Regions from separate parts of the Homo sapiens genome. Here region 2 is linked to region 1. The links are contacts of gene promoters, found by promoter capture Hi-C in human tissues and cell types (Jung and others, 2019). All regions are on one chromosome and are shown on one strand. The core of a region is centred on a gene start or on the middle of the fragment in contact, and the rest is flanking DNA. Distances in the headings are between cores, read along the strand shown. Region 1 holds the start of NLRX1 (NLR family member X1). Region 2 overlaps BCL9L (BCL9 like).

Evidence for each region. Contacts are between HindIII fragments. The study calls those that stand out against the background at their distance.
Region 2: a fragment that was not itself captured here is called in contact with the fragment with the promoter of NLRX1 in region 1 in 1 of the 25 tissues and cell types used here (liver).

What each region holds. Positions count from the first base shown.
Region 1 is chr11:119,167,373-119,170,167 of GRCh38, forward strand. It overlaps NLRX1 (NLR family member X1), which reads left to right and starts at 1,353. Exons shown (of 10, transcript NM_001282144.2): 1 at 1,353-1,930. RefSeq lists a silencer at 1,262-1,871 and enhancers at 1,443-2,148, 2,149-2,795. The HindIII fragment of the contact is 23,273 bases long and covers 1-2,795 here.
Region 2 is chr11:118,906,791-118,909,585 of GRCh38, forward strand. It overlaps BCL9L (BCL9 like), which reads right to left. Exons shown (of 10, transcript NM_001378213.1): 4 at 1,480-1,865; 5 at 693-812. Among named protein-coding and RNA genes, the nearest start is that of MIR4492, 2.5 kb to the right of the region's middle. RefSeq lists enhancers at 673-742, 2,471-2,795. The HindIII fragment of the contact is 6,400 bases long and covers 1-2,795 here.

The DNA of each region.
Region 1 (2,795 bases), core at 103-2,602:
AGGTTTCACCACGTTGCCTAGGTTGGTCGTGAACTTCTGAGCTCAGGCAATCCGCCTGCCTTGGCCTCCCAAAGTGCTAGGATTACAGGCATGAGCCACCATGCCTGGCCAATTTTTGTTATTTTTAGTAGAGACGGGGGTTTCACCATGTTGGCCATGGTGACGAGTTTGAGCTGGTCCCAAACTCCTGGCCTCAGGAGATCTGCCCTCACCCCCAGCCTTCCAAAGTGCTGAGATTACAGGTGTGAGCCACCGCGGCTGGTCCTCTGATTTATTTTTTCAGATCCAGTACAAATGTTACCTCCTCTGCACTCCCTTTTCCAGACTCTCCTAATGCCTTGCCTCTGCCACTGAAGTACATCATTTGTTTGTCTGTTTTTTATATTTTTATTTTCTATTTTCATTTTAAATAGAGACAGGGTCTCACTATGTCACCCAGGCTGGTCTCAAACTCCTGGTCTCAAGTGATCCTCCTGCCTCGGCCTTGAAGTACATCATTTGTAAATGTGGTAGTTGATTCCATTAAAGTGAGGTGCCTGCCTTGCTGTGGTTGGCAGCCCAGGGCCTAGTGCTGGACCTGGCTTGTGGGGGTGAGGTGCTCAGTGCTACCCAATACCACAGTACAACGAATGAACAAATGTCTAAATGAAACATCCACATTGTTTTCAGTAAGTCCTCTTCCCAGCCCTGCCCTGGAGAGCCTCTCTGTGGGTGCCCTAGTGCACAGCTCTGTTGTGTGAACATCGTACACTCATGCTTGCATACGAAGGCGTGCCCTGGCTGTGGGTGGTGGGTGGCTCCTCCTTCTGGGCTACGTGAGCCCAGGGTGTGGAAGTGTGTGGAAGTGTAGGGATAAGGGTGGGGGCTTTGGGAACTGGGAAGCCCCAGGGCTAGGCCATGAATGGGTGTCAGACCCGAAGAGCAGGTTGGGGTGCAAGTTGTCCTTCAGCCCCCATTCTTCCTTCTTTCTTAACCAAGGTTACCAGCAGCCACACACATAGGTCTGGGCTCTGAAGAGGACCGGATACATAAGGCAGAACCCAAGGAAGCCTTAGGCTCAGGTCTCTGCCTGAAGGTAGGCTGGGGAGGCGGAGAGGGACAGAGGGAAGAATCCCCTGGACACCGCGCCTCAGGGAGGCCCAGGGGTAAGGTAGGAAGACTCAGGCCCGGGATGTTGTTCTGGCTCATCCACTTCCTAACTGAATCAACCTGCACAAGTCATTTCACCCTTCTGAGCATCAGTTTCTTCATCTGTAAAATGGGCCTAACAAGCAGCCCAGCCTGGGAGGTGGTTAGTGAGGTCACTGGGTGTCACTGGCGCTTGGGAACCTGCAGAGGGCAGTACTAGCGGCAGTGCCCGCGGGGATGGAGGCAGGGAGGGGGGACGATGGCGGGACGGGTGGCGCCGGGGTTCCAGCCCTGCGCCTGCTCCGGAGCACCGGGCCCCTCTCGCTGACCCCCTCGTCCCAGGACCCCGCAGGCCCGAGTGCCTGGGCTCGTCCTCTTTCGCGCCCGCTGCCAGGTGCCAGGGCCGCGCAGGCGGGCGGAGGTGGGCAGGAAGCGCCACGCCGAGGAGCCGGGGACTCTGGGAGCTAGCGGGAGACGCCGGCGTCCGCCCAGCCGACCCCTCTGGGCCGCGGCCGACGGCTCCCGGAACTGGGCAGCCGCGGGTAAAGGCCTAGCGGGCTTGATAACCCCTGCGCCCTGGCTGGGAGGCCGCGCTGAGCGGGGGGCAGGGCGGGCCGGGGGAGGAGGCTGTGCAAGGGCCGCGGGGAGATCCCGGCCGAGAACGAGAGGGACGGAGCTGGGCGCTGAATGGCGGGCGTTCTGGCAAGTCTCCCCCTGCGTTCCCGAGGCCACCCGAAAGTAGGAGAGCTGTTTGGGACCCAGTTTGGTGGAGGAGCTCTGGACCTGTAGGAACACCGCCCCTGTACGTTTCCTGCAGTGCCCCCTCCTTTTCTCATTGCCCTGGAGACCTGGGTGATCACCGGAGAACTGCCCTCGGCCCCGCAAGTCCCGTCTTGACTCAGTGGCCCTAGATCCGAGGTTAAACCGGAACCTAGGCTTTCTCAGGCTTCTGGAGCCCTCTCTTAACCCTTCCGCAGCCCCTGGGACGGGCCAGCACCCAGCCAGCTCCTCCGCTGGTTGGCCCTGCTAAGGCAGGTGGCCCAATGCAGCCAGTTCTCCTTAAGCGTACCCTGCCCAAGAAGCCCCGATCTCAGTGGAGGAGACCAGGTGCCAAATAGGGGCACATTCCATTTAAGTGAGTTCAGAGGCCTCAGAAAAGACTTCCCAGGGACGGAGACTTTTGAGCAGGATCTTAAAAGATTGGTTGGGGCCCGAGTGGTGGCTCGCGCCTGCAGTCCCCGCACTTTGGGAGGGCAAGGCGGGCGGATCACTTGAGCCCAGGAGTTCGAGACCACCCTGGGCAACAATGGTGAAAACCCCGTCTCTACAAAAACCAAAGCCAAAAATTAGCCAGGTGTGGTGGCACACCACTTTAGTCCTAGCTACTCAGGAGGCTGAAGCAGGAGGATGGCTTGAGCCCAGGAGGTAGAGGTTGCTGTGAGCTGAGATCGTACTACTGCACTCCAGCCTGGGCAACAGAGCGAGAGACCCTGTCTCAGGAAAAAAAAAAAAAAAAAAAAAAAAAAAAAAAAAATTGGTTGGGACTCTAACAGAGGAAAAAGGTCATTCCAAACTGGGAAGAGTGTATGAACAAATTTAGGACAGCAAGAGCAAGAATCCGGTGAGCCTGGGGTATAAGGCACAGGCTGGGACAAACTCAGAAAAAT
Region 2 (2,795 bases), core at 109-2,608, 260 kb before region 1:
GGATTACAGGTGACAGCCACCACACCCAGCCTCTCTGGCTAGTTTCTTATGTCTCTCTCCTCAAAAAGATGTAAACGTAAACTTTGAGGGAAAAAAAATATGTACAAGCTTCCCAGGGGCAGGGGTTACATCTGGCTCTCCCCCATCACTCATGGAAGGACAAGATATAGGCGAATCCATAAAAGAATCAGAGGAGGAGTGGGCATCCCTCCACACCCACTTCTTGTCCTGGTGACACACCCTGGGTACTTGCCAGGAGTCAATTAGAGGTTAGGGAAGGGCACTAGAGACACGGCCAAGTGGCAACTCACACCCAGGCTTAGCAGGGCTTTGCACAGCAGAGCCAACTGCCCGGCTCCCAGTGTCCCTGGACGCTTCACCGCCCTCCCTCCACTAACCAGTAGGTGGCAGCATAGGCCAGGAATTCACAGGTAGAGGTGCAGGTGACGTGACCAAGAAGGAGGCCACTCCACTCTGCCCCACCTAGGGTCCCTAGGGAGAGGGGGTCACTGAGCACCTGGAAGGCAGAGGCGAGGCAGTTGCAGTGTAGGGAGGGACAGAGTCTGAGAGGTAGGATGGGAGAGAAAAATCCAGGACTCCCAGTCCTCACTTCTTTCCCAGGCTCAGTCCTCTCAAGTCCATCCCCCAGGAACATCACGGGCTACAGCACCCTGGCATCGACAGGCACTCACTGTGGGTGGCCCCAATGGGCTTGTCGTCCTCCTCACTGTCCGGTCCAGAGCACCATTCGTCCCCACTGTACGGCTGCTTCCGCTCCAGCACACAGCGCCGCTTACTCCGCGGCGCCACCTCTGCCCAGGCAGGACGGAGGAAAGAGTGAGTGCCTAGAGGCCCCATTATTCTCCCACACCCAGGGTCCCTCCCAGATCCATTCTCTAAGATGCCCCACCCTAGAGGGCACTGCCCAGGCCATGGTGGGCACTTCGCCAGCCCGTGGCCCCCACCACGCCACCATTTGTTTCTGATTTCTCTCTATAGCCCCATGCCTGTCTCCCCTCCCCCCCAACACCAAGTACAGCATAATCCCCAACCACAACTGGTTCTAATTAGGGCTGGAGGGGAGGGGGAGCTGCTGCTACTCTTCCAGGCCCCAGTGCCTGCTCCCAAAGGGCTCCCACCAGCCGGGATACGGAGGCTCCTGGAAGTGTGTGGGTCTGGGGTCTGCTCCTCACTCCATGGCACCTCCCTCTCCCCTTCTGGAGCTCTGGTGGGAAAGCAGGAGGGGAAGGAGTCCAGAAGTCCGACCACTCTGTGTGGCCCCTCCATGGGTGGCATCATGGCCAACCCCAATCCCGAATGATCTGGTTGGTGGGTGTTGAAAGGTACCCATGCAGAAATACTGGAGAAGAACGTGGGATGAGGACTGGACAAGCAGGGAGCAGAGAGGTGATCTCCCAGAACATCTGAGCCTTGGACTATGGGAGATGCTAGGGTCTTAGGGATGAGGAAATGGGGTACCTTTGGCCTCTGAATCCAGGGATGGGGTCCCAGCCTCTCGCTGCTCTCCAGAGTCCACAGACACACTCCGGTCCCTCTTCACCTTGCCCTTGAGCGAGCTGAAAGGGGGCACCCCTGCCTGGGGGTTCTTCAGACTTGAGTTGCTAGGCGAGATCTGGTTGGCCTTGGCCCCATGGTTCCCCGCCCCCACGCCCTTCGAGCCCACGTTGCAGGTGGGTCCTTGGTTCACATTCTGGTGCTGAGATTGGGCCCCGCCATTCCCTGTCTTGCCATGATTGGTCAATTTATTTTCTGGGTGCATTGGCTTGGCTGGGGCAGGGGGGCAATGACCGCGGGGGGACAGCGGCGGGCTCCCTGGAGCTTCTCTCCTCCTGGGGTGGGGTAACCTGGGAGGAGGTGGGAGAAATGTGAAAAGTTAACCTTGCTAGGGGCTAGGCATGCCTGCAACTTAATTACCCCATCCTGCCTCCCCTAACAATGGGGGAGGGTGGGGGGAAGGGGTGGTATCTCAAGACCACCACCAGCTATTCTCTACCTCCCTCCATGGCTTCCTCAGACAAGGGCTGAAGCCCTCATCCACCTTGGGGAGTGGAGATGGGGAAACCCTCCACCCCCTAGCCTCCACAATTTGAATGGAAACCAGGGCCTAGAGTTGGCAGAATTCACCCACCTCAGCCCCAAAACACCCATCAGCCTGCAAGCTTCTGTGGCAACCCTGTCCTCTGTATCAGACTTAAGCATCCTCTCTTCTAAGATCTGCTGTCTTCAGACTCCTTCCAAGGTCTCAAACCTCAACTCCCATATGTCCCAACACCAGCAGAGAAGGGCCACAGGACCTGGGGTCACTGCACATGCCCGGGTCTCATTCCCCAGGGACAGTGGGAAAACGCACACCAGGGAGTGCTACCCACTGGTCCAGACAGCTGGAGGGGAAGGCCTGAGGAGGGGGGCTTGGCAGGCCAGGCCGGCAGGCAGAAGCAGGAGGAAAGGGGGAGGGGAGCGGTGTGTCAAGCAGATGGGGAGTGTAGCTTGAAGCCAAGGATTCCTGCAGCCTAGGCTGCGGGCCCTTTAAGCTCCAGCCCGCTCCCCCCGCCGCCTCCCCCTCCCCGGAGACCTATTAATAGCCGCTGGAAAGATCACATCACGGGAGAGGATATTTATCCCCCCTCATTCCACACCAGCTCAGATTTATTTCAGCTCTGCTGTCCTGCTGCTGCCGCCTGGCCCTGTCTGCCGGCTTCTCCGGGGAGGGGGGAGGGAGGCAGGCACCGCCCCCTACTCCAGCTCCCACCTCCAGCTAGACTGAGGCCAGAGGC